7 separate regions of the Homo sapiens genome follow, and all the other regions are linked to region 1. The links are contacts of gene promoters, found by promoter capture Hi-C in blood cells and fetal thymus (Javierre and others, 2016). All regions are on one chromosome and are shown on one strand. The core of a region is centred on a gene start or on the middle of the fragment in contact, and the rest is flanking DNA. Distances in the headings are between cores, read along the strand shown.

What was found. Contacts are between HindIII fragments. The CHiCAGO score rates a contact against its expected background, and 5 or more counts as called.
Region 2: a fragment that was not itself captured here is called in contact with the fragment with the promoter of HEBP1 in region 1 in 4 of 17 cell types (non-activated CD4 T cells, total CD4 T cells, activated CD4 T cells and 1 more); the score reaches 8.7 in non-activated CD4 T cells.
Region 3: a contact is called between a fragment that was not itself captured here and the fragment with the promoter of HEBP1 in region 1, in 1 of 17 cell types (M2 macrophages). The highest score is 5.2, in M2 macrophages.
Region 4: a contact is called between a fragment that was not itself captured here and the fragment with the promoter of HEBP1 in region 1, in 1 of 17 cell types (M0 macrophages). The highest score is 5.9, in M0 macrophages.
Region 5: a contact is called between a fragment that was not itself captured here and the fragment with the promoter of HEBP1 in region 1, in 4 of 17 cell types (erythroblasts, M0 macrophages, total CD8 T cells and 1 more). The highest score is 6.3, in erythroblasts.
Region 6: a contact is called between a fragment that was not itself captured here and the fragment with the promoter of HEBP1 in region 1, in 3 of 17 cell types (activated CD4 T cells, non-activated CD4 T cells and fetal thymus). The highest score is 7.7, in activated CD4 T cells.
Region 7: a contact is called between a fragment that was not itself captured here and the fragment with the promoter of HEBP1 in region 1, in 1 of 17 cell types (erythroblasts). The highest score is 5.0, in erythroblasts.

The regions. Positions count from the first base shown.
Region 1 is chr12:12,998,877-13,001,576 of GRCh38, reverse strand. HEBP1 (heme binding protein 1) reads left to right here and starts at 1,312. Exons shown (of 4, transcript NM_015987.5): 1 at 1,312-1,540. The coding sequence starts at 1,463. All of the region lies in intron 2 of GPRC5D-AS1 (GPRC5D and HEBP1 antisense RNA 1), which reads right to left. It also overlaps the pseudogene HTR7P1. RefSeq lists silencers at 218-367, 1,128-1,247, 1,298-1,447. The HindIII fragment of the contact is 1,773 bases long and covers 455-2,227 here.
Region 2 is chr12:11,542,729-11,545,428 of GRCh38, reverse strand. All of the region lies in intron 2 of LOC124902877 (a long non-coding RNA gene), which reads left to right. Among named protein-coding and RNA genes, the nearest start is that of LINC01252, 4.0 kb to the left of the region's middle. RefSeq lists an enhancer at 864-923. The HindIII fragment of the contact is 1,479 bases long and covers 592-2,070 here.
Region 3 is chr12:14,450,883-14,453,582 of GRCh38, reverse strand. All of the region lies in intron 6 of ATF7IP (activating transcription factor 7 interacting protein), which reads right to left. Among named protein-coding and RNA genes, the nearest start is that of PLBD1-AS2, 78 kb to the left of the region's middle. The HindIII fragment of the contact is 861 bases long and covers 879-1,739 here.
Region 4 is chr12:14,969,517-14,972,216 of GRCh38, reverse strand. No RefSeq gene overlaps it. Among named protein-coding and RNA genes, the nearest start is that of PDE6H, 2.2 kb to the left of the region's middle. The HindIII fragment of the contact is 1,238 bases long and covers 780-2,017 here.
Region 5 is chr12:14,415,500-14,418,261 of GRCh38, reverse strand. The region is part of intron 1 of ATF7IP (activating transcription factor 7 interacting protein); the gene reads right to left. Among named protein-coding and RNA genes, the nearest start is that of ATF7IP, 51 kb to the right of the region's middle. The HindIII fragment of the contact is 731 bases long and covers 1,071-1,801 here.
Region 6 is chr12:11,171,438-11,174,137 of GRCh38, reverse strand. It overlaps PRH1-TAS2R14 (PRH1-TAS2R14 readthrough), which reads left to right and starts at 2,527. Exons shown (of 5, transcript NM_001316893.2): 1 at 2,527-2,700. SMIM10L1 (small integral membrane protein 10 like 1) reads right to left here. Exons shown (of 1, transcript NM_001271592.2): 1 at 1-2,700. The coding sequence ends at 2,575. PRH1-PRR4 (PRH1-PRR4 readthrough) reads left to right here and starts at 2,513. Exons shown (of 10, transcript NR_037918.2): 1 at 2,513-2,700. It also overlaps a transcript of PRH1 not described here. The HindIII fragment of the contact is 1,117 bases long and covers 793-1,909 here.
Region 7 is chr12:14,770,719-14,773,418 of GRCh38, reverse strand. It overlaps H4C16 (H4 histone 16), which reads left to right and starts at 2,288. Exons shown (of 1, transcript NM_175054.2): 1 at 2,288-2,699. The coding sequence starts at 2,335. The coding sequence ends at 2,646. RefSeq lists enhancers at 2,476-2,700, 2,470-2,700. The HindIII fragment of the contact is 1,284 bases long and covers 626-1,909 here.

The DNA.
Region 1 (2,700 bases), core at 63-2,562:
GCCCCCCACCTCCGGCAGGAGGAAAGAGCAGAGGCGCCCGTAGAGGTCCGGGTGGCCGCTGCTGTTAACATCCATCACTGCGCCGCCGTGTGGCGCTGCCCAAGAAGCCGCCCCACCCCCCTCCCCACCCCCGCGGCCGCCACAGGCTCCGGCTTTCGGCCCCGGGGCTTCAACTCGCCGGTTCCCCTCCGCCCGGCCCAGCTTGAGGCCTGCACCGGCCGCTGGGCAGCGCCAGGCTCGGCCTCGGGGCCCCGCCTGTCCCAGATCCCCGGCCGCTGCGTGAAACGCGAGAGCGCTGCCGAGCGGGGACTCCCTGAGGGAGGGACCTCGGACCCCGACGGACGCCCGGGACGCGCGGGCTCTCGGGCGCTCCGGCGGGGCTCGGCCCGCGGCTCCACAGCCCGCTGCACCCGCGCGGCTCGGAGCAATGGAGGATCAGGCAGCGGCAGAAGCTTCCGTTTCCTCCTTTTTAAATGGCTCCAAAATATTTCTTGTCGGTGGTGTGGAGTAGAGATTTATTGGTAAAATACTTGACAGAAAGCAGGCACTCAGCTGAGTAAATGGTGACAAAATTGGTGAGAAGATTTTTGAACAGGAGTGAACGAGAAAAGCCATGCTTAGAAAAGTCACCTGGAAACTGTGATTTAGAGGGATGGTAGGAAAGAGTGGCAGCAGGAAAGTGGTTTGGATGCTCTTTCAATGGTCTAGAAGAGGTCATGGGGCGGGGGTAGAGGGACAGCTACCAAGACAGGGAGCCTGGCCGCCGCTGTACCAGCGGGATCGAGCCTTCGGGTAGAGGACCGGAGAAGCGTGAGCAACCCGGGGCTCGGAGGTTGGAGCCCAGGCACCTGAGAGAGGACGTTCCCCACCACCGCTGCCTAAAGCCACTCCAGGCGAGAATCGCTTTCCAGGGCCCCAGCGGATAGGTTAGACTCAGAATAAGAGAAGGGGTCTGCGGAGGGGGACGGCCTGAGGCCCGCGGCCGGGTTCCCTCCCCAGACACCCGCGGAAAGCCCGAAAGGAGGCGGAACACGGCCCAGCGGCTCGCCACGGCGGGCCCATCCCTTGCTTAGCCGCCTCGCACCCTCGCCTCACCGCACTGCTGCACTGCTGCACTGCTGCCCTGCTGCCCGCCCTTCGCATCACTGACCCGCCCTCTCTCCGCCCCCTCGCCTCGCCGCCCCGCCCTCTCTCTCCGCCCCTTCACCTCGCCGTCCCGCCCCCTTGCCTCACCGCCGGGCTGAATTGCCGCCCCGCCCTCTAGCCACGCCCTCTGGCCCCTGCCTCTAGCCCCGCCTCTCGCCTCGCCGCCTCGCCGTCCCGCCGCCTTGCCGCCCTGCCACCCTGCCGCCCTGCCGCCCTGCCGCCCTGCCGCCCTGCCGCCGGTGGTCGCTGCCCGTGGTGCTCCGTCGCCCCCGCCACCTCACGTCCTCCCGTGCGTCGGGAGCGTCTCGGCTACAACATGTTGGGCATGATCAAGAACTCGCTGTTCGGAAGCGTAGAGACGTGGCCTTGGCAGGTCCTAAGCAAAGGGGACAAGGTAGGCCCGCAGGGCTGCCGAGGACCTGAAGGATTGCTGCCTCCCACCCCCACCCTCGTCGGGGCTGCAGCGGGTGCTGAGGGGCAGGTGGGGCAGGAATGTGCTATCGAAGGTGCGTTCTGGTGTCTGTCGCGAGTGCGGCTCTCCACCGCCCAGCATTTGGACTGGGAAGGAAAGGAGTGAGAGGTCCCCCTGCAGCCGGTGGTGAGAGGAGGGGGGTAAACAGGAGAGACTGATCCAAGGAGAGAATCCCAACTTGGGGAGTTGGGCACTGCCTGTTGAATGCATTCTTTCGTTTAAAATATTCCAAACATTCCGAACAGTTTGATTTGTTGAGAGACACTCGGTTGCAGAAATGAGTGTCGCAAGAAACTCCCAAGTACTAGAGAACTGCGGATAGTAGCCCCCTTTATCCGCGATTTCAGTTACCTGTGGTCAGCTCTTGTCCATAACTATTAAATGGAAAATTCCAGAAATACAGAAGTCCTAAGTTTTAAGTTTCCGGCCATTCTGCGTAGCAGGATGAAATCTTGATTCCTGGGACCGGAATGCCCCTTTGTCCAAGGTCAGCCTCCTATCTCTAGTAGCCGCCCTTAGTCACTTAGTAGCTAGCTTGGTGATCGGATCGACCGTGGCGGTATTGAAGTAACCCTTATTTTACTTAGTAATGGCCCCAAAGTGCAAGCTTAGCAATGCTGGCATATTGTTATAATTGCTGTTATTTTATTATTGTTGTTCATCTCTTACTGTGCCTAATTGATAAAGTTAAACTATATCATAGGTATGTATGTATAGGAAAAAACGTAGTAGATACAGGGTTCAGTTTTGTCCACCGTTTCAGGTATCCACTGGGGGGCTTGGAAGGTATCTACTATAGATAAGGGGGACTACTGTGTAAAAGAACAAGATCTGTGCAGAATAGATATAAATGCGCTACGCAGGGAGCACAGAGGCAGTCAATTCTGCCAGGGGGCTATGATGGGGACCTCAGTGGAGTGTCCTGAGCTGGGGCCTCAGGGATGTGTAGGAGTGCACACAACAGAGAAGAGCATGCACAAAGGCCCAGAGCTGTACCATTGCTTTTGGCCAGTTAGATCCTCTGGAGTTGGGTACCTAGAATACAGAATGAGTGAGAAGAGCATAATTGCTGTCTTCCCCCA
Region 2 (2,700 bases), core at 82-2,581, 1.5 Mb after region 1:
TAATCTTCGCAGGCTCATGAAGAGGAGTTAAGGATACTTTTGTCTTGAAAATGCTAACAGTCCCTCATGTGCTTGGGACCAGGGCTGCTGGAAAACCCACTAAGCAGCACACGGGAAACTAGAAAAGCAGAGGAACAAAGTTTTGGGGTTTTTGGGAGAGGGGGTGAAGAATGACATATTTTATTCCAAAAGCATAAAATATTTAATAGTGGAAACTATGAATGATACTGTTTAATTTTTAGGAGGCCAAAATATTTTAAGATTTATAAGTTTTAAGCTGGCCTTGGAGTGAGGGCAGAAAATATGTACACAAACAACTCTAATACAAGACTGAATGTGATGTATACCATAACAGAGCACCAAAGTAATAATGAATTGGGAGACAGAAGAACCACAATGTCTTTATAAAGTGGTATTTGAAGTGGACTTTGATGAACAGATAGGCAGGGTTGGAGTGCATGATCACTAAATCCATTCAAACCTTCTAACATTGACTTTTTATGGTGTGGGGGTGGGTGGGATGGGCACGGATTCTCCATGCAAAGGGACTATCTCGGGAACAGACAGTCACGGGGGCGGGGGGACTAAGCTTTCCAGTGTGCCTGGAGAAAAAGGCACATGTGAGGTCATGGATCTCAGGGCCCAGGCTAGTCTAGTTTGGCTGTAGCAGGAAGTGTTCCTCACTCTGCTCAGACCCAGGTACTGCTTCAAACCAGAAAGTCTGGAGAGTGGGCTCCTTCCTCCCCTAATGGGGCAATTTGCCCAAGGACAAAGTCCAGGCTTGCTCCTCCGTATCAGACCCTGCTCTGGGTAGAGGGAAACCACCACATGCTTTCTTGTTTGATGTGCTGAGTGCTCAACTGAGCTGTCTGTGCCCCTACACTGCTTCTGTATACTTAGAGTCAACCTTTAGAGGATGATATTTCAACATTCTGCATGGAGTTTTCTCTGTAAAGTACAATGAGTTTGTGACTGACCAGAACTACAGACATTCCCTTTTGTTTGTGAGCTGCATGACCAATGTGTTTGGCCTCATTAAAAATGAACTGGGCAAGCTGGGCATGGTAGCAACTCAGGAGGCTGAGGTGGGAGTCTCACTGAGCTCAGGAGTTCGAGTCCAGCCTGGGCAACATAGCGAGACCCTGTCTCTAAAAAATATAATAATATAAAATTTTGAAATAAGAATGAACTGGTCAAATAGGAAAGTTTTCAAGGACATCAACTGGTCTTTTCTTGCACAGAGGAGATTCGCAGGATGAAAATACTCTGAGGCTTCTTCCCACTGCAGGGCACAGACCCGAGTTAAGTGTGGCCTGGCCCTCAGCACTTCCCAGGTGCCCTTGGTGCATCCTGGTGCTGACCTGTGCCCCTCCACACTCCTGCTGTGCAGCTCCTGCTACCCTACAGGAACCTGCTCCTGAATAATCCCTGTGTCTCCTCTCTGTGCTCTTATGAGTCACCGAAACTCGCTTGTGAATTTTATTCACAGGGTTTTGACGGCTTCTTTCTATCCAAATTTATTTCCTCCTTGACCTCATTCCTTCTGTCTTGTTGCCATCACCAGTGAAAGCTAATATTATTTACATAGGGAAATGCATAGTGGATGGAAGGATACAGTTCTAGGAGTCACATGACCAGCCAAAAAAAGTTCTGCGTAGACACACACACACACACACACACACACACGTATAAACATATCATAACAAACTTAGCAGCTTGAAGATGAAGATTAATAGTGTTACTGTTTAAGGATCTCAAAGATAAAACATTTGCAAATTTAAAGCACACTTACACATGTATTCCTCTTGAGGACTTGGAAACACAGTTTTGCAGAATAACTCTGGCTGCCAGCTAGCACGGGAAGAGAAGTGTTAAGTGTTGAAAACTGTTAACTGTTCATGGACCAGTATAAATTGAGTCATAGGGGTGAGGTGTTTTTATGTTTGCTATATTTCCTATTTCCACTACTTTCCTGAATAAGTACATTTACTCTGGGTTAATTTTTGAAATAATTTTGAAATTATTCAAAACATTGTTGTGTGTATATGCAAAGACTAGGGAAAAGAAGCTTGGATTGGTAGCAAAAAGCCAACTGTGACTTTGAGCAAATTATTTGACCTCTCTCAATATATCTTTTCTTATTTTAAAATAAGGAGGTTGAACTATATCATTTCTATGCTTTCTTTCATTGTTAGCAATCCACGAATAATGGAACACTGCACAGAATAGTAAACACTGGGTTAAGATCCAGTATTGGCTCGAATCCTTATAACTGTGTGATCTGAATACAGTAATTTCTTCTCCCTGGGCCTTACTTTCTTCATCTGAAAAATTACAGGATTGGCCTCTATCTTCCTTATTGTCTCTTCAGACTCTCATGTTTTGTAGTTTTCCTCAGTTATGGTAGAAATCTCATCCTTCTCTTCTTAACATTTAGTCCTGTGCTCCAGGGAAAGAGGAGGGAGTTGGGAGAGGCCTGATATAATCATTAATTTTCTCCGTCTTTCTCTTTGTTTTGTTTTAACTCTCTTTCTCCTTCCCCCTCCCCACCTTCTCCTCCATTTTTTTTTTTCTAGAACACTGAGAAAGTTTCCTCATAGTCTACTTGGCAGTTGCAGCTGTCCCTAGAATGAGTCCTGAAACCTAGATCTGAGTTGCGGTAGAAAGCCTATTACTTCCTTGCTTGTTTGAAGACAGCCT
Region 3 (2,700 bases), core at 60-2,559, 1.5 Mb before region 1:
TCAGGAAAAGGGTGCATGAACAAAATGAAAATATCAACAAAGAGAAACTGTAAAAACGTATCATAATACAAATTAAAAAGCTGAAGAATACACTGAAATGAAAATTCACTGTAGAGAATCAAGAGCAGACCGGATCAAACCGAAAAATAAGTCCACAAGTTTGAAGACAGGTCATTTGAAATTATCAAGCCAGAGGAGCAAAAAGAGAATGAAAAAAAGCTAAGAAAGTCTAAAGGACTTTTGGGACACCAACAGGCAGACCAATATACACATAAGGGAAGTAAAGGAAGACAGAGAGAAAGATAAATAATTGCTGAAAATGTCTGAAACTGGAAGAAGAAAATGGAGATGCAAATTCAAGAAGCTCAAAGACCTCCAACTATTGTTAACCCAAAAACATCTACACTGAGATACATTATAACCAAGCTGTCTGAATCACAGTAAATAATCTTGAAAGCAGTAAGAGAAAAGCAACTCATAACAACACACAAGGGAACTCCCATAAGATAACACGCAGATATCTCAGCAGAAATCTTGTAGGCCTGAAGGAGTGAGATAATATATTATCAAAGGGCTGAATCAAAGACCTGCCAATCAAGAATACTATACCTGGCAATAATATGCTTCAAAAATGAAGGTGAAATTAAAATTTTTCCCAGATTAGTAAAAGCTGAAGGAGTTTCATCACTATACCTGTCCTAAAAGAAGTGCTGAAGAAAGCCCTTCACGTGGAAACTAAAGAGTGTATGCATCATGGAAGCATACAAAAATATAAACTTCTCTAAGAAAATGTTGATAAGGAGAAAAATACAGAATCCTGTATTCTTGTTATATTGGTGCATAAACCACTTTTAATTCTGGTATAGAACTTAAAAGCTTAAAAAAACTAAAAATATGTTAACAGATACACAACATAAAAAGATGTGATATACGACAACAGTAACATCAAGTCATAGTGAGGCAGATATAGACTAGCGCTCTTATATGATTAAAGTTATTTGCAGTTTAACATAGACAGTTGTAACTTTAGGATGTTTTATGTAATCCCCACGGTAACCACAGAGGAAACATCTAAAGAAAATACACAAAACGAACTGTAAAAGGAATGAAAGCACACTACTATACCAAAAGAAAAACAAAAAGCAATGAAACACAAAGGAATCAAGAAACAAAAAAAAGCTACAAGTCATAGAGAAAAAAACAAAATGACAACAATAAGTCCCTTCCAATGAGCAGTTTATTTAAATGCAAATGGATAAAATTCTCCAATCAAACGACAGGTTGACTTAATGTTTTTTAAAATAAGATCCAACTATATGGTGCCTACAAGAGGCTCACTTTGGATCCAAAATACAACACAGAATGAAAGTGAAAGGATGGAAAAATATTACCATGCAAATGGTAACAAGAAGAGAGTAAGGATGGGCCATACTTATGTATGACAAAATAGACTTTAGGTCAAAAACTGTCAAAACAGACAATGAAGGACATAATGATAAAAGGGTACTTTCACCAGCTGTAACACACACACACACACCCCTACATCAGAGCTCCAAATATATGAAACAAACATTGAAAGAATGGAAGGGAGAAACAGACAGTAACACAATGATAGTAGGAAACTTCAATACCCCACTTTCAATAATGGATAGAACCATCAGACAGAATATCAACACAGAAACAGAGAACTTTAACAACACTATATGCTAATTGGACCTAACAGACACATAGGATAAGCTTGGATCAAACAACAGCAGAATACACATTCTTCTCAAGAGCACATAGAAAATTCTCATGGATAGGTCGCATGTCACAACCCAGGTCTTAACAAATTTAGAAAGAATGAAATCATACCAAGTATCTTTTCTGACAATAATGGAATGAAACTTGACGTCAACAGCAGAAGAAAAGTAGGAAAAGTCACAAATATGTGAAAATTAAACATGCTGTTTAAAAAAAAAAACCAACAAGTCAAAGAAGAAGGTAAATTACAAGATATCTTCAGACAAATGAAAATGAAAACAAAATATAATAAATTGTATGCAGTGAAAACAGTGGTAAGAAGGAAGTTTATAGTGGTAAAACACAAACACAAAGATCTCAAATCAACAATCTAGCTTTACAACTCAAAGAACTAGAGGGGAAAAACTAAACCCAAAATTAGCAAGAGGAAAGAAATAATGAAAATTAGGGTGGAAGTAAACAAAAATAGAGAATAGAAAAACAAAAACAAAACTTAAAAGTTGGTTTAAAAAAAATCAGCAAAATTGATAAATCCTTAACTAGGCTAACTAACAAAACAGATGACTTTAAAGATGAAAAGAAATGAAAGAAAGAGAAGACATTAGAACTGATGCTACATAAATGGGAAGGATTACAAGAGACTACAATGAACAATTACACACCTGCAAACTTGATTACCTAGAAGAAATAAATTCCTAAAAACACACAACCCACCAAGACTGAATTATTAAAAGTAAATAAATAAATAAATCTATAATTATTAAGGAGACTTAATCAGTAATAGAAATCTCCTAACAAAAAAAGCCTAAGGCCAGGTGCGGTGGCTCACTTGAGGTCAGGAGTTCAAGACCACCCTGGCCAAATGACGAAAGCCCGTCTCTACTACAAATACAAAAATTAGCCAGACGTGGTGGTGCAGGCCTATTATTCCAGCTACTCAGGAGGTTGAGGCACACA
Region 4 (2,700 bases), core at 149-2,648, 2.0 Mb before region 1:
GAAAGATTAAGTGACCTATTCAAGACTGCAAATAAAATTAATAGTGGAGCCAGGAACAGGGCCCAAATCTGGAAGTACCTTGCATATTCAATTGTCTTTGTGCTGCACTACATCAAAGCAGACAGAGACCAAGATGTCTGTTTGCTGGTCACTTCCATGCCTTGCCAGTGAATTTCAATGTTCTTTCCCCAGTTGTTACCTATTAGAAAATTACACTCCATAACATTACAGAGAAAGAAGGTCAATTTATCCTTTCTAGACAGGGAGAGGTTCTTAACCTGCAGCCCTAAGCAGATTACATGAGCAACTAGACAGCTTGAGAGTCATTCATATGCTCTCCACTGGTCTTTACCAAAATTCCTCTGAGTTTTGAAAGCAATGATTACCTTGCAAAGCCAGGAAAGTGTTTGGTCTCTGGATGAGTCCCTCTGCTCCCTCCTCTGTATCTCCATTACCATTCACATCTTCCTTTACTATTACATACCAGGCACGTTAATGTTCAGATGCTTATCTGTCAAACTTTTACATATTCTCCATTTTCTTGATGAAAGAATACAAATTTTAAGGACAGTGGAAAGTGCCAAAAGCTGAGTGAATGTTCTAGAATGTTGTTACTCAAAGTGCAGCAGCAGCAACACCATCTGTGCACTTGTTAAAAATGCAGGATTTCAGCCCTGCTCCATACTTACCGAATCAGAATCTGCTTTTTAACAAGGTCCAAGGTGATGTGTTTGCATATTAATGTTTGAAAAGTACTGTTCTAGACCCATATGCAAGCTTGGGTTTACCACTTATCTGCTATATGTCACCTCTCTGAGTCTCAGTTTCCTCATATGTAAAATGAATGATTTAGAGTGTTGGGGTTCTCAATTTTTTTCCATCCCAGTACACTTGAGAAAGATAATCTTGCAATTCTCAGATTCTCAATTTTTGAATATGGGGGTGGTTGTGCCATAAGTCTTCTTCCTCCAAAGGAAATCCAGGAGAGAGAAGAGGGAGAGATTAGGAGTGTGGAGAAAGTCTAGGTGTATAGTTTGAAAAATTCTCCTAAAGCCACTCTAATATGGTTCTCAGGGGTTTAGAATTAGAAAATTCTTAAATTACTCTACAGTCTTAAAAATCTATGTTCCTTCTTGTTTTGGACCAAGTAAAGTAGACACATTTCCTCTCATGCCTCTTGCTAAGTACAGCTAAAAATCCTGGATACTATATATGACAGAAATATGGAATATTTCAAAATATTTGAGAGAAGAAAAACCAAAGACAGGCTTTAGATGCGAGGAACAATATGGCAGGAAGTTTCCTGAATTTTCTTTTTGTATATCCGGATGTTGATGCAGGAAAAGACAGTAACCCAAAAACACCAAGAGGAGTGAAAAAACAAAAAACCTCCCCAAAAGCCTGTTTTTTCTAGACAAGTGACCAAGAGAGTAGCAAACTAGCAAGAACAAAAACATTTAAACAAAAACCGCCCTACTCCAGTCAAATACCATGGAAAAAAAACATGACATGACTCAGCAAAGTCTGAGTGGAGAGCCAAGACTTTCATCTTGATTCAGCTACAACGGGGTGACCTTCTTTCTCCCACCCTAGCTGAGTAGCATCAGAGAAAGCCACATTGGGATCTTGGACTTTCACCTCCAACCAGTCATAACGAGGCCACCTTCTTCTCCCTACCAGAGCGGTATCAAAGAAGCCCAAGTGGGAAATTTCATCTCCATTCAGAAATAACACAGCATGTAAAAAAGCATGAAATAAAGATTTTAGAACTGAAAAATAGAATAACCAACATAAAAAACTTAATGGATAGGCTCAAAAACAGAATGGAGAATAAAGAAGAAAGAATCAGTGAACTTGAAGACAGAAAAATAGAAATTACCCAATCTGAACAAAAGACAGAAAATAAACCCACCCCCCCACAAAAAAAATGAATAGAACCTTACAGATCTGTGAGACTAAAGGACCTAATATTTATGTCATCAGCATCTCAGAAGGAAAGGAGAAAAGAGATGAAGCTTAAAAAGTACTTGAAGAAATAATGGCTAAAAATGTTCCAAATGTAGTGCAGGACGTAATTGTGTAACATCAAGAAGGTGGGAAAACCCAGTGGGATAAACTCAAAGAAATCTACACCAAAATACACCATGGCTAAACTTCAGAAAACTAAAGACAAAGAAAAAAAGTAGAAAGCAGTGAAAGAGAAGCAACACCTTATCTGTAAGAAAAATAACTCAACTGACAGCAGATTTCCCATTAGAAACCAGGGGGACTAGAAGGATATGGCACATTTTTCATGTCCTGAGAAAAAGAACTGTCAACCCTCACTTCTATGTCATGTGAATTTATCCTTCTTCGGAATAAGGGGAAATAATGACATCCTCAAACAAAGGAAGACTAAGAGAATCTATAATCAGAAGACCTACTCTAAAAAGATGGCTAAGGAAACTTTTTGAAACAAAAAATAAATGATAAAAGAAAGAATTTTAGTCTATCTGAAAAGAAAAATGGAAGATAAGAAACTCAACCACCTTCAGCAAGGCTTGGTGGAGAACGAAACATCGTTCAAGGCACTATGAGGTTCTAAGGGTCTGGTCATCATCTTGGATCAAGGATTCACCCACTGTTCCCTGTTTGAAGTGGCTGCTCTTCCTGTCTCTGCTACTCTGACTCCTACTGACTCTCAGGGGATTGGTGTAGGCT
Region 5 (2,762 bases), core at 187-2,686, 1.4 Mb before region 1:
ATTCAAGAACTCTGGGAAAATAATATCACTAATAAAACCTTTTTCTATAGAAATTTATATTTAAATAACCAGAGAAGGGTATGTTACCTGCAAATAAGTCTCTCTGGCTTGGAAATTTTTTTTTCAAATTTTTGGTAAATTATTTTTAAAATATTTTTAAGGAAAGCCCAACGAGCTTCTTCTTTAAATGAAAACATTACTCTCTTCTCTGCTTCATCCCCCTCCACCCACTTCTTTCTAGCAAGAGATCATAGCAATGAAACAACAAAGGGAAGCTGTTATGTCTTAGCCTACAATCTGCCTGCTCAAAAAGCTCAAGAATTTAAATGGCTGTTCAAGAGCTGCTCACAAACTCAGCCAATCAGCAGCCAGCATTCTGATTCCTGCCCAGCAACAGGAGACAGACAATAAGGTCAGAAAAACATAGTTAAACAAAAACTGTATCTGCAATACTTAAGTGTGGTTCTTTGTTTGAAATAAGTAATCTAGAACACAGTTTACATAAAACCCTAAATCCACGTAACACGCATTAAATATACCACACACATAAATGGATAAGATTTACATCTTTTATGCTATTTGCTTTAATAAATATCCATGAACATTTCAAGAAATATACATTAATATAAATTAATTTCCTACCTGAGGAATAAGTCAAACATGGACAATATACGTAAGAACATATTTTTCTATACAATGCAAAATTCAAATGTAAATTTCTTTTTAAAAATTCCATAGACCATACATATAAAATATATAAATCTAGCAAAACCTTAAATCCAGACAAGTAAAAAAAAAATCTTCATACCCATCTACCACTATTGTTACAGATTTCCGATTCCAAAAATTAATAGTATTCTGGACCCAAAGGATTACTAGGGATAGTATTATGAAGTGTTGTGCTGTCTACTGCACTGAACTGACTTAGTTTAATTCATCTAATGAAATCTAAATGTCTGATTCTGGACAACCTATATTAAGTGGTATAAGTACAATTACTACATCCTTTTCTCCTTAACTGCCTTTCGCAGCAAGTTACAAAAGGTTATATGAGATATCCTTTCAAAGCTTTATTATAAAACAAATGTGTGGATTACAAAGTAAATATTCATGAAAATTAAAGACATTTTTATTATATTACACCATTCTATAGTTCTTTAAATATAGGATTATAAAATAAAAATGGAAAATTTGTTATCAGAATTTTTTTCTCAAATTCACTACTTATTAGGTGTTCTTAATAACCAAGTTTTAAAAATAAACCTCATTTCCCCCCTTCCTTACAGATGAACCTTGTAATTTTTCAAACATACCCAAGAGGGAGCTTGCTGCAGCCATACTCTTAGTTTATATAATCTCCCCACAGGAAAAATATATCAACAGCTGCTTCAATGTTTCAGTCCTGTGAGAGAACTGAAATTCACTGTCTGATTGGCTCAAAGCCGAAATAGTCTAAAACCAATCAGACATCAGTGTCACAAACCTTGCCCAGCAACAAGGGAAGAAGATGAGGGCAAGAGCTCTATTAAAAATGCAAAGGATGTGAAAATCAAGGTGAACAATGAAATGGAAACATTAGGAATATAACTCTAGATGCTCTGTTTGAAAAACAGGTCATGGTAGGGTTTCTTTGATTAAATAAACTAGGGTCTGTACTGCTTTCCAAGAACAGACTTAACTAAGTACCACGATTGTTGGGTCAAAAAGCATATACAACACATAGACAAAACAAATGCTGTATTAATTCAAAGTAATGAATATCTGATGAAGTATACTTCAAAATAAAACTAAAGCAAAAGCTTAGAAAACATCAAGCAAAACCTTTTAAGTGGACATGGCATTTCTATCTTTGACAAAGGCATTCCAATTATATTCATGCTGTTGCCTGAGAGTACAACATTTTTCTGAATAAAAATTTCATTCATTTTTCTACTGAAAATAATTTTAATTTGAGTTTATTTTCATTAAATGGCTGAATTAAATATTAAATAATCACTTTATGCTGATAATTTCTAACCTCTTTAGAAATGCAACTCTGCTATTAGATTCTTTAAGAATCCCATTCTCAGTTGAAAACTGTATGATTTTATTTTACACTTCTAAATTTTGCTTGAGAATTTGCAATACTCTAAAAATAAAATCATAAAGAATAGTGGGTTGCACAAAAGATGCTAATAATCTGCTTTACTGCTTACTGCCCATTAAATAGACTACTGAATCTGTTCACTCACTTTGATACTTATCTGCTCAAATTTAGTATAAAGATTTTGAAATTTTTATTTTAAATACCATGTCCATCAGTATTTGTGGGAGACTGGTCCCAGGACTCCCTACAGATAACAAAATCTGACAATGTTCAAGTCCCTTATATAAAGTAGTGTAGTATTTGCATATAACCTATGCACATATTGCTGTATACTTTAAATTATCTTTAAATTACCTATAATACCCAGTATAACATAAAGGCTATGTAAACAGATGTTACACTGTTGCATTGTCAGCTACGGTTCTCTTAACTGGTATAAAATAACTGTCACTAGCTATCCTGCCATCTTAAAAAAAAAAAAAAACAGTAAGTGGTGAAATCTGTTTATCAAATACTCATAAACTCAGTTGAGTAAGTTATCAAGTGATCATAATATTTGACACTTTCACAAATTAACCCCTCTGCCTGTCACCGACCAAAATGTGGAATGCAATATCCCCAAACTAAATTGTAAAAAATAACCAACCACAAAGGAAACTGGGAGTTTGCTTTACCA
Region 6 (2,700 bases), core at 102-2,601, 1.8 Mb after region 1:
TACCCCAAGAATTAAGAGCAATTGTGAATAAATGATAAACCACAGAGTTTACATTTACCTCCTAATACATTTAACTCCTAATATATATATATACATATATTACGAGGTAAATGTAAGCTGTAACTTTATGCATATATTGTAAGTAGTAACTATACATATATACTTATATACTGTATACATATATAGTAAGTAGTAACTATACATATATACATATATAGTTACTACTTAAATTTATATATGTGTATGTATATATATATGTATATATACAGTACACACACATACTGTTACTACCGGGTGTAAAATTGAATAGGATATAGTGTCTTCCCTCACAGAGCTGCCAATTATGTTGGAGGATGTAATAAATACAAAGTCTGTTTCTTCATCTTCGGTTTAACAAATGACTGATGTGAGGAAAAAAGTTATAGGAATATGTTCACATAGTCACCCAAATGGAGCATCCTACTCTGTCACCATTTCAGGATTAAGACTAGACAGTCTTTTGTGTTACAAATTGGGACATCAGTGCTCTGGGAAACAGTGATGTCCACGATTCTAAATCCCTTGGTATTACTATTTCATTGATTAAACTACACTTCTGATATTTTAGACTAAAATGTTTTGGCTTATCGCAGTCTAGGAAACCTGTCTTGGGTATATAAAACAGACAGTTGATGCACGATTAGGGAAAAATAAGGCAACCTATGAAAATGGCCTTATGGATTAAAAGAAGTGAGCTCCTATATGGTCAGTGGAATCCAGGAAAAATTTAATGGAAAAAGCGCCACCTAAGCTTAGCTTTAAAACACAGAGTATCTTCAGGTAGAAAAGGCTATAGGAGAATGTGCCCAAATGGAGTTTGGCTGGAGACAAAGAATAAAGACTAGAAAGAACAATTACCCTAGGCCAGACATGGTGTTGGACGGGGCAAGATGCTTACTACTTAAAGCCATAGAACACTGTTTGCTGGACACAATGAGTGGAATATAGAACAATGCAACTATTTTAACACTTTACCCCTCTTAGTGGTTTATTAGTTAATTTTTTCCTGAAAAAAAAAATGCGTATACTACTTTTTCTGCACTTTTCTATATCAGATCTTGATTTAAAACTTTACCACTCTTGGTGATTTATTATTAGTTTTTTTAATCCGAAGAAAACATGTGTATACTCCTTTTTCTGCATTTTTCTATATCAGATCTTGATTGGCTCACCACCATTACACACACACACATCTCTTTTCTCCCATCCTCCCAGCGTTATAGAATCATTTGTTGTAAAATCAGTATTCAGTATTTACATAATTATGACTGACTTTACATGACTACTATTATTCACAGTTGAGGTATACCGTGTATACAGTGTAGTTTTTAAATTTTTATTTTTCTCAGCGTTCAAAATTATATGTTCTGTTTTCTTAATTTTGAAAAATATGCATTCACTAATTTATCCCCACACTCTTTGGAAAATGAAAGCTCTCTAGGCTGTATTCAAATACACCAGGTACTCTATCAATTTTCATTTTTTAAACTATTCTACCTGAGCTCTCCATCTTTAGCCATTTCCTGTTGACTTCATACTGTTCTCCCCTACCACTCTCCCTCTTTAATATATTACCGTTTTAGAAACTTTATGGCTACCCTGTAAGTAATAAAAATGTCTTTCCCCACTCAACAACAGACAGTACCTTTCAAGTTTCCACTTTATAAGGACATAACCCCCATTCCATTTACTTCCCCCGCCCTCCTTCAACATTCCCACTTGTATTTTCCGGCTGTATTTTTAAAACATGGTAAATAACATTTGCACTCCACTTTGTAACCATAATTAAGTATGCCCTTAAACAATAAAAACCATAAACAACATTTGTATTTTACGATTATTTAAATGTTATTCACTGAACAGCCAAGCTTTGTGCTACTATGGGATTTCGTTTTCTGCGGTTCCAAGTCTTGATCCACGTCCTGCCACAGGATCACTGAAGTAGAGCCCATTTTCTTACACTCTCGCCATTAGTTCAAAAGCTTGCAGCATTTTATGTCTGGTACTTGGAGGATGATTTTCCTGTACAGTTTTGCGTTTTTTTCACCGAAAATTTCTGATTATTATTGTTTTCTCTTGTGGGATGAAATATGTACCTTCTATATCACAGCCTTAATACCTTCAGCTTCTTATTCATTGAAATCTTGCTTACAATCCAGTCCGAGGATTCCCGGTTTACTGATTTTCTTTTTCCTGCAAATTTTAGCCTTCTGTTTTGTTTTGAAATAATGCATCCTCTGCGCTTTGTCACATTCTGAAATTCGTCAGGTGTTTTAGGATGCACACTTTCTTAGATGTTTTCGAGGGTCTTAACTGCAGTTCTGTTTCCGGAACAGCGTATTCTCTTTCTAGGGATTGTAGGCTCCCGGCCGCCCCCTGAGGAGCTCCGCTAGCAGCTAAGAGGGCAGCCACGAAGAGCGCCTGAGCACTCTCGCGAGACTGTGGGGCTCGCCATTGGCTGCTCCGCCGCGCCGCAACGGACCCTGGGAGTCGGCCATCATGCTGGCCCCGGAGGCCGTTAGCTTAGTCATGGCTCTAAATATGTACCTGCAATCGGATGTTGAGGATCACCGAGCCCGCGACGTAGAAGTACGGGAAGTTCATGCGCAGCTGCCAGGCCAGCTCGAAGAAGGCGAGCAGGGTGCGGGAGAGCCCCTTGCA
Region 7 (2,700 bases), core at 18-2,517, 1.8 Mb before region 1:
TTTACCTGAACATTTTCAGTAACACAGTTAACACCGATACGTGATGTAATGTTGAACGCTTGCTTTTTAAAATAAACATTTTATGTGGATTCATTTACATTTAAAGTAAAGCAAATTTACCTTCTCACTATCCGAATAAAGATTTGACTTCATTGAAATAACATTTTCAAATATTTATGTATATGTCATTACTGCCTAGAACAATGATGAACCCATACTGGGGACTCAATAAATGTCTTCAGAGCTATTGTCATGGTTTAGGCGGTCTTTCCGGAGCCAGTCTGCCTCAGCCTAAATCCTGGCTTTACCACTGAGCAGTGACCTTTGATAAGTTATTTGACTCCTCTACCTGTATCAAAGTGTTTTGAAAATTAAATACGTTAGTAAGCATCCAATAACTCTTAGATATACCAAATAAATGGGCATACAAATCTCTGATGCAGTTTTTAACGAGATGTTCCTGGAATGAGTTCTGTAAACTAGCTTAAATTTTTGCCTGTATCTTGGGGAATTTTCAAGAGTTTTTAAAAGTATTACTATTTTAGACACGATTTTTTTTCTTTTATTCCAATAAGCAAGAGATTTCTAATTTGAAAATGTTCTAGTCTTGATTTCTTAGAAAGCTTAACTATAAGTAAGTCAACCGATTTTACCATTACAATAATTTTTTTTTTTTTTTTTTGAGACGGAGTCTCGCTCTGTCGCCCAGGCTGGAGTGCAGTGGCGCGATCTCGGCTCACTGCAAGCTCCGTCTCCCGGGTTCACGCCATTCTCCTGCCTCAGCCTCCCGAGTAGCTGGGACTACAGGCGCCCGCCACCACGCCCGGCTAATTTTTATGTATTTTTAGTAGAGATGGGGTTTCACCATGTTAGTCAGGATGGTCTCGATCTCCTGACCTCGTAATCCGCCCTCCTCGGCCTCCCAGAGCGCTGGGATTACAGGCGTGAGCCACCGCGCCCGGCCCCATTACAATAATTCTTATCTCTTCAAGATCTGATAGACTTTTCCTCTTCCCTCTGAGTCAAATATTAAAATCATGAGTGAAGTTCGACCATTCAGGACTTTTTCCAGCCATTCAAGACAGTGTTCCAACTCTTTTATCTTTAACAAAAAGTAAAAGAAAAATAAATACCTTTTGGGTTATGAAGATGGGCATGGATTGAAACAAATGTAAACTATAGGCATTTATAAATATAACAAAATTTTACCATAAAGTCTTCCTGCTGTAAAGGCTTATCTTCAAGACCAGGGACAAAGAAGCCCCACTTACTAAAATTCATTGCTCAGAATCCTAATTAACTACCTGGGAAAGACTTATGACTCATCCTCTAAATAACAGCTGCTTTTTAACACAGTAAAACCTTTAGAGAAGACAGGGTCCTGACACCTTTGAAGAGCGGTGACACCTTACAGAAACTTTCGTTTTTGTTCAGGGATTCTCTTGAGAAAGGAAGGGATTCAGAACCTCCTGAGGGGATTTGCAGTAGAAATCATTATTCCAAGTCATGATTGTGGCATCCATTGTTTTACAAGAACTTTGAATTTTTAAGTGGAAAATGTGAGATGAGAACCTGAGATTTGAATGACATAAGACATTGACAATATTTCAACTAAATAACCACAGGAAGTTACTTGGTTGAAAAGCACACAGGCTCTTGCAGGGCAGGAAAACCTGCAAATTGCGCAGAAGCAGCTGAAAGGGGAATGGCGGGGGTCGGGGGGAGGTGGGGGTGGAGTGTAGGTGGGGGACGGGAAGCTGCACTTTCTTTTTTCAATTGAAAGAATTTTAATTATCTGCAGGGCCGTAAAAGAGAAAAAAGTCCTCTCCCCCTACTATGTCTTCAGAAGACCCACGTGTGAAAAATTTTAAATTTTAAGTAATTGCTTTGAAATCTCGGATGTAAAGCTTTTCAGGTTTTTATAGAGTTTCATAGTAAGTCAGGAATTCCGTTTGAAAAAACAGAAGGAGGGAGGGACAGAACAAGGAACGTGCATAGGATCTGGCCTACTTTTATTTAAGCGCTGAGAAAAGGCAATATAAATTCTTTTAGCTCATACTGTTTTAACTTTAAAACGTATCACCATGAACCTTTCTCCAAACATCAGAAAAAATTTTCCCAAAAGAGCAAACAACAAAAAAATCAGGCTGGTTTCGCTGACTGCTTCCTGGACTTAACAACTATAGCATGTCTCCAGAGGTGGGGCCTAGAGCTCCGCCCACTTTTTTGATGTTTTCAAACAGGTCCGCATCGAGAGACTATAAGCCCTGGTCTGCGACTGGCAATCACAGTGGGCAGCCCGATTTTCTGCTGAGTAGGCGCTGTGATTTCAGAATGTCTGGGCGAGGTAAAGGTGGCAAGGGGCTGGGTAAGGGAGGCGCCAAGCGCCACCGGAAGGTGCTGCGGGACAATATCCAAGGCATTACAAAGCCGGCGATTCGCCGTCTCGCCCGACGTGGGGGCGTCAAGCGCATTTCTGGTCTCATCTACGAGGAGACCCGGGGAGTCCTCAAAGTCTTCCTGGAGAACGTGATCCGTGACGCGGTGACTTACACGGAGCACGCCAAGCGCAAGACCGTCACGGCCATGGATGTGGTGTACGCGCTGAAACGCCAGGGTCGCACCCTTTATGGTTTCGGCGGTTGAGCTGTCCCCACAGCTTCTCTACAGACTCCAAAAGGCCCTTTTCAGGGCCCCCAA